3 separate regions of the Homo sapiens genome follow, and regions 1 and 2 are each linked to region 3. Evidence: promoter capture Hi-C in 16 types of primary human blood cells and fetal thymus (Javierre and others, 2016). All regions are on one chromosome and are shown on one strand. Each heading gives the region's core, a stretch centred on a gene start or on the middle of the fragment in contact. The rest is flanking DNA. Distances are from core to core; before and after follow the strand shown. Region 1 has its middle 5.2 kb from the start of PPDPF. Region 2 overlaps LOC105372725 (a long non-coding RNA gene). Region 3 holds the start of ZBTB46 (zinc finger and BTB domain containing 46).

Evidence for each region. Contacts are between HindIII fragments. The CHiCAGO score rates a contact against its expected background, and 5 or more counts as called.
Region 1: a contact is called between a fragment that was not itself captured here and the fragment with the promoter of ZBTB46 in region 3, in 1 of 17 cell types (monocytes). The highest score is 5.3, in monocytes.
Region 2: a fragment that was not itself captured here is called in contact with the fragment with the promoter of ZBTB46 in region 3 in 2 of 17 cell types (monocytes and total CD4 T cells); the score reaches 5.7 in monocytes.

The regions. Positions count from the first base shown.
Region 1 is chr20:63,524,369-63,527,617 of GRCh38, reverse strand. No RefSeq gene overlaps it. Among named protein-coding and RNA genes, the nearest start is that of PPDPF, 5.2 kb to the right of the region's middle. The HindIII fragment of the contact is 4,217 bases long and covers 1-3,249 here.
Region 2 is chr20:63,504,506-63,507,581 of GRCh38, reverse strand. LOC105372725 (a long non-coding RNA gene) reads right to left here. Exons shown (of 3, transcript XR_937004.3): 2 at 2,586-2,678; 3 at 1,850-2,227. Among named protein-coding and RNA genes, the nearest start is that of EEF1A2, 7.0 kb to the right of the region's middle. The HindIII fragment of the contact is 815 bases long and covers 1,156-1,970 here.
Region 3 is chr20:63,829,462-63,832,803 of GRCh38, reverse strand. It overlaps ZBTB46 (zinc finger and BTB domain containing 46), which reads left to right and starts at 1,540. Exons shown (of 5, transcript NM_001369741.1): 1 at 1,540-1,707. RefSeq lists a silencer at 1,383-1,522 and an enhancer at 3,105-3,342. The HindIII fragment of the contact is 15,017 bases long and covers 1-3,342 here.

The sequences.
Region 1 (3,249 bases), core at 543-3,042, 310 kb after region 3:
TGAAGACAGGGTCTTGCTCTGTCACCCAGGCTGGAGCGCAGTGGCGTGACCACAGCTCATTGCAGCCTTGAATTCCCAGGCTCAAGTGATCCTCCCGCCTCAGCCTCCTGAATAGTTGGGACTACAGGAATGCACCACCACACCTGGCTAATTTTAAATTTTTTTTTTTTTAGGAGATTCAGGGTCTTGCTATGTTGCCCAGGCTGGTCTCGAACTCCTGGGCTCTAGCAATCCTCCTGCCTCGGGACTACAGGCCTGAGCTGCTGCGCCCAGCCTGGGCACGAAAGCCGTCTGTACGAGAGTTGCTGGGGAAATTTCTCTGAAGTCTGTATCAAGTGGGGCAGCTTCAGCTTACAGGGCTTTGGGAAAAGAGCAGTTTTAATTTTCAGTGACTCCATGAGGAATGGTGGAAGAAAAAATTGGAAAGAGTGGTTTGGTGAGCTGTAGGCAAATATTGGAGGAAACTGAAGTTCAGGACCCGGTCCGGACCACAGGTGGGCGACAAAACCTCCAGACAGCAAACCGGGCTAGAGTCTAATAGTGGGGGCACGAGTTTTATTTTGAAACATAATTTTTCTCTCTACAGTCAACAAATTTCTTTTTCTTTTTTTTTTTTTGAGATAGAGTTTCGCTCTTATTGCACAGGCTGGAGTGCAATGGCTTGATCTCGGCTCACGGCAACCTCTGCCTCCCGGGTTCAAGTGATTCTCCTGCCTCAGCCTCCCGAGTAGCTGGGATTACAGGCATGCGCCACCACGCCCAGCTAATTTTTGTACTTTCAGTAGAGATGGGGTTTCTTCACGTTGGTCAGGTTGGTCTCGAACTCCCGACCTCAGGTGATCCACCCACCTCGGCCTCCCAAAATGCTGGGATTACAGGTGTGAGCCACCGCACCCAGCCAACAAATTTCCTTCTTCCTTTTTTTTTTTGAGATGGAGTCTCGCTCTGTCGCCCAGGCTGGAGTGCAATGGCGCAATATTGGCTCACTGCAACCTCTGCCTCTCGGGTTCAAGTGATTCTCCTGCCTCAGCCTCCCAAGTCTCTGGGATTACAGGTGCCTGCTACCACGCCCGACTAATTTTTGTATTTTTAGTAGAGATAGGGTTTTGCCATGTTGGCCAGGCTGGTCTCGAACTCCTGACCTCAGGTGATCCGCCCACCTCGGCTTCCCAAAGTGCTGGGATTACAGGTGTGAGCCACCGTGACCGGCTGCAAATTAACGCATTTCTATCAAAGATAATAAAAGTAGGATTGTTTTCAAATTAACACATTTCTATCAAAGATAATAAAAGATTGATTTGATTGCAGAGTAAGTTTGGCCTCATTAAACCTGGTGTGGTTATTTATGTAAGTGGAACAAGAATAGTGATTAACCACATAGGTTCTTCCTCATTTTTGTTTTCCAACAGGGCCTCACCCTGTCACCGAGGCTGGAGTGCAGTGGTACCATCATGGTTCACTGCTGCCTTGACCTCCTGGGCTCAAGCCACCTTCCAGCCCCACCCTCCAGAGTAGCTGGGACGACAGGCATGTGACACCACACCTGGCTAATTTATTTGTATTTTAGTAGAGAGGGAGCCCCACTATGTTGCCCAGGCCAGTCCTGAACTCCTGGGCTCAAGCAAACCTCCCATCTCAGGCTCCCAAAGTGCTGGGATTATAGGTACACCTGGACACGTGGGCTCTTTTAAAATTTGCTTTACTGGAACTTTTTTTTTTTTTTTTCCTGAGACGGAGTCTTGCTCTGTCGCCCAGGCTGGAGTGCAGTGGCGCGATCTCGGCTCACTGCAAGCTCCGTCTCCCGGGTTCATGCCATTCTTCTGCCTCAGCCTCCCGCATAGCTGGGACTACAGGCACCCGCCACCATGCCCGGCTAATTTTTTTATTTTTAGTAGAGACGGGGTTTCACCGTGTTAGCCAGGATGGTCTCGATCCCCTGACCTCGTGATCTGCCCACCGTGGCCTCCCAAAGTGCTGGGATTACAGGTGTGAGCCACTGTGCCTGGCCTACTGGAACTTTTTATAAGGAATCTGAGATTGGGCTTTTAAAAGCCTCTTGAGGCTAGGAAGCCATCGCAAAGACTTGCCATCAGACTTTGCCTGCAATAAGTACAGATTTAGGGGAATTCCTCTCTTCTTGAGGTCCCTAAGGTATCTTAAGATTCTGGGACCTGCCAGGAATTGACATTCTTTACTCATCTGTAAGGGAACCACGTATGTGAGGTACCAGGCCAGCTTTTTTCCAAGGGGCTTTATTGGACCATGCAGTCAACCCTAACTCCTTTAGTCGTATCTGAAAATAGGACATTCCAGTCAAAGCCTTGGTAATATAACCAATGTTTTCAATTGTGCCCTATTACAAGAACAGATTCTCATTGAACTTATGCAAACCCACTAACAGTTTCTGAATTCTGGGATTAGGGAGGAAGAAAAAGATAAATATTTCACCGTTGAGGCCATTCTAACCTCCCTGCCTTTCTTCCCTGAAGCAGGCCATAAAACCCAGGAAGGCCACTCCCAGACCCTCTCCCTGCAGACCCTCACGTGGTGTCCCGCCCCCTAACCAGAGGAAAGGGATGTCAGAGTCAAGTCGGGCCTTGATCACACCCTTCCATCCTCCGCTCACTCCTGCTCCGCTGTGAAATAGACCATTTCTTTGGTCTTTGTTTTGAAGGGGCCCACATCACATGGAACTCGCATTAAATGTTTGTATGCTTTTTCTTTTTTTTTTTTAAGACAGAGTCTTGCTCTCTGACGCCCAGGCTGGAGTGCAGTAGCGCAATCTTGGCTCACCGCAGCCTCCGCCTCCCGGGCTCAGGGGATCCTCCCATCTCAGCCTCCCCAGTAGCTGGGACTCCAGGCATGCACCGCCACGTCTGGCTAATTTTTTTGTTTTTGATAGAAACAGGGTTTTGCCGTGTTGGTTGCCATGTTGACCAAGCTGGACTTGAAGTCCCGGCTTCTAGTGATCCACCTGCCTCAGCCTCCCAAAGTGTTGGGAATATAGGCGTGAGCCACTGCGCCCAGTTTAATCTGTCTTTTGTTCAAGGGTCTGTTGGATACAGTGAGTTCTAGATTTCTCTTAGAGGACTCAGCATGTATGTTCAGTTCTTTGTTCTCCATTTAACTCGTGCATAGTTTCAGTAAACAACCTTTTCCACCAGTTTTAATCAATAGTTCACATCTGTTCCCCTGGTCACCTGCTCCGTCCTGACTCATCCTGGTACCTGTTTTTTTTTTTTTTTTTTT
Region 2 (3,076 bases), core at 314-2,813, 330 kb after region 3:
GCTGGCCGAGACGACTGGACCCACTGGGCCGAGCTGAGCCGAGACGACTGGACCCACTGGGCCGAGCTGGACAAGATGACTGGACCCACTGGGCCACGCTGGCCGAGACGACTGGACCCACTGGGCCGAGCTGGGCCGAGACTACTGGACCCACTGGGCCGAGCTGGACAAGATGACTGGACCCACTGGGCCACGCTGGCCGAGACGACTGGACCCACATGGCAGCGGACTTGACCTGGGTTTCACCGGTGACCTAATTATATGCTCATCAACACACAAATCACACTCGGCAGTGCCATGACAGTTCCAGGAACACACATATTTGGTGTAAAAAAGGGTGGCACCACAGTTCCTAGAAATCTTCACCTTTTTCCAGAAATCTTTATGAATATTCCACTCCTTGGTTAAAGAAACCCATTAAAGGTAGGGGCCCCAAACCCTGCCTCACGACTCACTTTCTTGAGAACACCCATACTCCCCTTTCTTCTTTGACTTTTTTTTCTATTTGCTTGTTTATTTTTATGAGGCAGGGTCTCACTATGTTGCCCAGGCTGATCTCGAACTCCTGCCTCAGCCTCCCAATGTGTTAGGATTACAGGCGTGAGCCTTCACACCCAGCCACACTCTGCTTTCTGGAGGGTGTACTTTTTGCTTTGCAATAAATCTCTACTTTCATTATTTTTTAACTCATCCTTGAATTCGTTTTGTGATGGTGTTAAGAGGCAGGACACTGGCCTGGGTCAAGGTCCCATTCGCATTTGGGGACCTCCCCTGGCCACCAGTATCAAAAGTACTTCCTTGTTAATTTTCAGGGTTTTTTTTGAGACAGATTCTCACTCACTCTGTCACCCAGGCTGGAGTGCAGTGGCATGATCTTGGCTACTGCAACCTCTGCCTCCCGGGATCCAGCGATTCTCGTGACTCAGCCTCCTGAGTAGCTGGGAATACCGGCATGTGCCACCATACCTGGCTAATTTTTGAATTTTTAGTAGGGATGGGGTTTCACCATTTTGGCCGGGCTGGTCTTGAACTCCTGGGCTCAAGTGATCCACCCGCCTTGGCCTCCCAAAGTGCTGGGATTACAGGTGTCAGCCACCGTGCCCGGCTTACTTATCAGTTACAAAGGGCAAAGTGGTAACTTTACTGTGAGAAGCTTGTGGATGCCAGTTTAACCAGAGGATCAAAGGTACCGTTGCCGCTGGTGGGCAGCCAGCGTCCCGAGTGCTGGGAAGGATGCCTGGCTCTTGGTGCCAATCTGTTCATGCAGAAATGTCAGGAACGCTCAATGCGGGGACAATCTACAAAACAACCGGTTTGCATTCTTCAAAAGTTTCAGTGTCATAAAAGATTTTTAAAAAGACAGGCCCAATGTATATACCGTGAAAATAGTAAAACAATAAAATATAAAAGTAAAAAGACTGAAGTAACCTTGTCTTTGTATTGATGTGGAGTCAACCGCTGCTTCCAGTTGCGGGGGAGTAGCTGCTGCCAGGTACGTCTCCCTCCAGAAACGACTCTGAGACCAGACAAAATTCGTGCGCTGCTCTCTTCAGGCAGTGGGGTGAGGACAGCACAAGACCGAGAGGGTGCTTGGAGGCGCCCACACTCCCGGCTCTCCTTGGCCATAACCCCACAAGCAGGGCTCCAGGCAGAGCACGGCAGTCCCCCTGGGATGAGAGGCAGAGACTGGAGTGAGGGGCTTAGGTGTGCATGTTGCTGGTGGGGAGTGCTTGGGACCTCTGCAAGCCTGTGGCTGAGGGTGAGGAGGTGCCGGAGGCTCACCAGAGAGCAGTGACTATAGGCCCTGTGCTGTTATCCGTCACTGCATAACCAATCAACACCGATTTAGTAGCTTTAAAAAACATGCATTTATTCTCAGTTTTGGGGGGTCAGGAGCCCACACACAATTCCGCTGGGTGGCTCGGGGTTTCAAGAGTGCCACCAAGGTGTTGGTATTTCTTTCTGAAGCTTGAGGTCCTCTTTGAAGGCCACGTGGTTGTTGGCAGAATTCAGTTCCTTGTGGCTGTAGGACTGAGGTCCCTGCTTTCTTGTTGGCTGGCAGCCTGGGGCCACTCACTGGTTCCCTGATACGAGGCCCCTCCCATGCCTTCCAACAGCCATATCTTCACAGACAGCAGGGGTGTCTTGCTGCTCCGTCCCCCAGGACAGAGCCTGGAATGATGCAGCCAATCACAGAGTGACTTATCACCTTTCTGTGTTCTATGGGCTGGACACAAACCGTAGTGTTTCTCGGAGGAAAGTACTCAAGGCTGCGACTCACCAGGGATTACCTGAGGTTGTATCCACCCAGGTTAGAGCAGAACAAAGATAGTAGAGGACAAGCTGTGTCGGGCAGTATTTTGGCATTTGGCATTTGGACCTGGCCAGAGTGGAGAGACTTGGGCGGCATTGGCATTTGGCATTTGGACCTGGCTAGAGTGGAGAGACCTTACTTTTTTTTTTTTTTTTTGAGGAGAAAGGACTACAATGTACAATAATGCCTACTCCACACTCACCTAACGAAAGTTCAGACCAAGCCCCACAGAGATCTGCAGGGGAGACTGAGATTGAGGGTTGAGTCTTACCAAGGTAGCAGGACTTGGGAAACACTTTGGGCTTTCGACATCGACACTGACAAAGCATGAGAACAAGTCCACAGGGCCCAGCAGTGAACCAACCTGCAAAGCAAACACCGACAGCTTCAGAGGAGGAAGCAGAGTAGACTCTCCACATGATGTTCAGTATTCAGTCAAAAATCACTAGACACACGAAGAAACAGGACAATGCAACCCACGCTCAAGGGGTAAAAGCCAATTATCAATTGATTTATTTCCAGCTGCAAATTCACCCTTTATTGCCTTCCTCAAAAAAGTGAATCTCAGCTGGGTGCAGTGGTTCGCGTCTGTAATCCCAGGGCTTTGGGAGACGAAGGCGGGTGGATCACTTGAGCCCATGAGTTGGAGACCAGCCTAGGCAACATGGCAAGACCCTATCTCTATAAAAAATACAAAAATTAGCTGGGCGTGGTGGTGTGTACCTGTAGTCCCAAATACTTGGGAGGCTGAGGTGGGAGGAT
Region 3 (3,342 bases), core at 291-2,790:
GCCCCCACTTCCCGAAGGTCGGTGAGGCTGGGGCTACAGTTTCAGACCAGAGCAGGCAGTGCCACCGAGAGGGTGCCGCGCGAGGTAGGCCGGCGACGGGGCTTCCTGGGCCGCAGTGCCATCCCGGCGACCTTGGCGAGGGGATGGGAACGGGGTGTCCGCACAGCCATTTCCAGGCGCCCGCGACGGCAGTAAGGGAGTGTCCCAGGCGTTGGTCCCGGCAGCCACACCTCGCTTCGCCTTTGCTCACTCATGGAGAGCCCTCAGCCGCCTCCCACTGCCGCTCCTGAATGCGCCTCACACATCCAGATTTGAAAGCACCCATAGGGCCGCCGCCTCCCACCTCCCGAGGAATCCGCTGCGCTGGGCCCGCAGGGAGGCAGGCTGGACGGCCCGGGCGCCTCCCCATTGGTTGGCCGGGCCGGGCTCGACTCCCTCGCGCGGCTGCCGGCCACAGGCTCACCTCCCTTCCCGCCGCGCCCGGGGAGAGGAAGCGAGGTGGCCTTTACCCCTGCGCAGGCCGGCCAGGAATGCGGGGCCGCGCTTCCCACTCTACCCGCCCGAGGGCTGAGGACGGCGGAGGCGAGAAGCGACGCGCAGAGTCCGGGCGCCGAGTGGTGGAGACGCGTCCCAGGCCGTTCGGATCGGGGCTGCACACGGGCTGGGGCGAGGCCCGGGCCGCTGGTTCCCGCCCCCTCCCGGAGCCATTCGTCCCCCGCAGACAACACGACGGGAGGGACCCACGCGCGGCCGCCGGTGCCCCTAGTCAGCCAAAAGCGAGCCCCACTGGCGGGCACCCCCACGAGGCCTGCGCCCGAGGTGCGCCGATCTCCGGGTGCGCCGAGGCCCCCGAGGGTAGGCGCGCGCGGTGCCCAGGCCCTTCCAGACCCCGCACCCCGGGCGGCCTTCCTTGGGGGCGCCTTTTCCGCACCGCGAGCGGCCCGCGTTGATGCCCGGCCGGGCTGGGGGAGTCGCCAAGTTTGCGAGACGCGCGCAGTGCAACCGCGCGTCAGGCGCGGGGACGGCCGGTGACCTGGGCACCCGCGCGCCCCCGAGGAACCTGCGCGTGGGCAGCGCCCGGTGCGCGGCCCGGGAAGGGAGCGGGTGCCCTCGCCGGGGTCGCCGCTCCCGTGGGGTGTTTCCAGGCTGCTCCGCGCTCGCGGGGCAAGGGCGCAGCGGGGGCCAGGGGGACCCCCGCGCCGCGCCGCCCCAGCCCCCCGCCAGCCCAGGGGAGGGGGCTTCCCACAATGCCCAGCGAGCTCCAGCCCGCACTTCCGCTGTCCGGCTGCCCGCGGGGGGGAGAACGGACCCCCGGCGCGGCCCCCTGCGACCCCGCGGCGCGGCGCCGGGAGCCGAGCGAGGGGCGGGGCCGGCGGCCGGGCCGGCGTGGGCGGGGCCCGGGGCGGTGGCCGCGGCCGGGGCGCGGCGCGGGCCAATCAGCGGCGGCCGGGCGCGCGCCGGGGGGCGGGGTCAGGGTCCGCGGGCGGGGCGCGCGCGCGCGGGCGGCGGGGGCCGCGGGGTTGGAGCGGGCGCGGGGGCGCGCGCCGGCCTGACGGACCGACGGACGGACGGACGGACCGAGCAGCCCCGGCGAGCGCGCAGCTCGGACCCGCCCGGACGCAGCGCCCTCCCGGCGGCGGCGGCGATCACCGGCGCCGGCCCGGCGGCCGCGGCGCCCGCCCTCGCCCGCGCCCCATGGGGTCACAGGTAAGCGGCGCCGGCTCATTGTCCGCGCGGCCGGGCGGGCGCATCGCGGCGGGGGCCGGGCCCGGAGCCGGGAGCCGGGAGCCGGGGCCGCTGCGAGCCCGGGCGCGCCCCCGCCGCCGGCCGCCCCGCCACGCCCCGCCCCGCGGGGGCGCCCTCCCGGGGGCCATCGGCGCTCCCAGCTGCGGCGCGGGCTCCGGGGGCGGCGGCGGAGACCCCGGCCCGGCCCCCGCGGGTGCCCCCCAGGCCGGCGGCGCGGGGCGGGGCGCGCGGGGGCGGCGCGGGTTCCCCGCGGGGCTGAGCGCGGAGGCGGCTGGGCTGCCCCGGCCCCTCGGCCCCCGGCACCTCCCGCCGCCGCCGCGCTCCCTCCCCGGCACCTCCGAGAGGGGAATTTTCCAGCTGGTAATTTCTGCTGCGTCAACGCCTGGCCCCGAGGCAGCCCGGGGGCGTCTTGGCGCCCCCCGCCCGCGCCCCCCGCCGGCACAGCCCAGCCGCACCCGGAGCCGCCCGCGCCGAGTTTGCCAAGAGTCGGAACTGCGGGAGGTGGGCGCGGGCGGGTCCCGGCGCCCTGAGGCCGGGGGGTCATTGTCTCCCCGGACGCCGGGCGCCGGCCTGGTCTCCATCTTAATCGCCGGCCGAACCGGGGCGCAGGGGCCTCGGGGCGGGGCGGCTCGGGGCGCGGAGGGCTCGGGGCGCGCGGGGCGGACGGGGCGCGCGGAGGAAGCGGGGTCCGCTGCGAGCCGCGTCTTTGTTTCTCTGTAAATAGACATGTCAGTTTCGCGGGGGAGCGCGAGCCGGTGTCTGACAACTCAATCCCTAAGGCAAACGGGGAATTCTCTGCGCCAGAGGGAGGGCTCCTGCTAGTTGGGGTTCCCCTGGCCCCGCTGACAGATTCACTGTTTGTAGGTTTAACGAAGCACACACAATAGGGCTGGACCGAGGAGCCAGGGTACAGACCAGATGGGGCGAAGAACGGATATTTTCTGACAGCGAAGAAATATAAACAAAAGAAAGTTTGAGATTCGCAGCGAATTTCCTCTCTCGCTTTCCGTGCTGCAATCTCAACGATGCATTTGGAGTGGATTACGGTGGCAAGATTGTGATCAGCATTGTTTAAAGAAATGCTAATTAGAAACGTGTTTAGCGCGCGGCCTGGGCGCAGACACCTGTGCGCCGAGAACTCACGGGCATTTTAATTGTATCGATTGTAGAATCTTTCATATTGGCTCTATTATCAGAGCTAACTTCCCGTTTGGGTAACAGACTGGATACATCTCTGCTGCTGGCACTCACGCTGCCTCTGCAAGGCACTATTTCACTCTACAAGAGTGGAAAATAGTTTGTTCATCAAAAGGAAATGTATAGAAGGGGTTTTTCACATGAATAATGAAGCAAGCGACAGTATTTATCAGAGTAGAACCTTTCTGCTCGGTGTGTTTTACGTGTTTCCAACTGGCACTTTTGGGCACCTCAGCCTGGTTACCACTGCAGAAAGGACTGAGGAGTGAGGGGAGTACTTGGGCACAAGTTACTGCAAATTTAGGTGGGAACTTACTGTGTCCCCTAAAAAGCTAGACATCTTCTCCGTAACTGAAGGAAGAGGGCTGGGGAGTTACTGTCAGATTTCTCCTTGGGGCG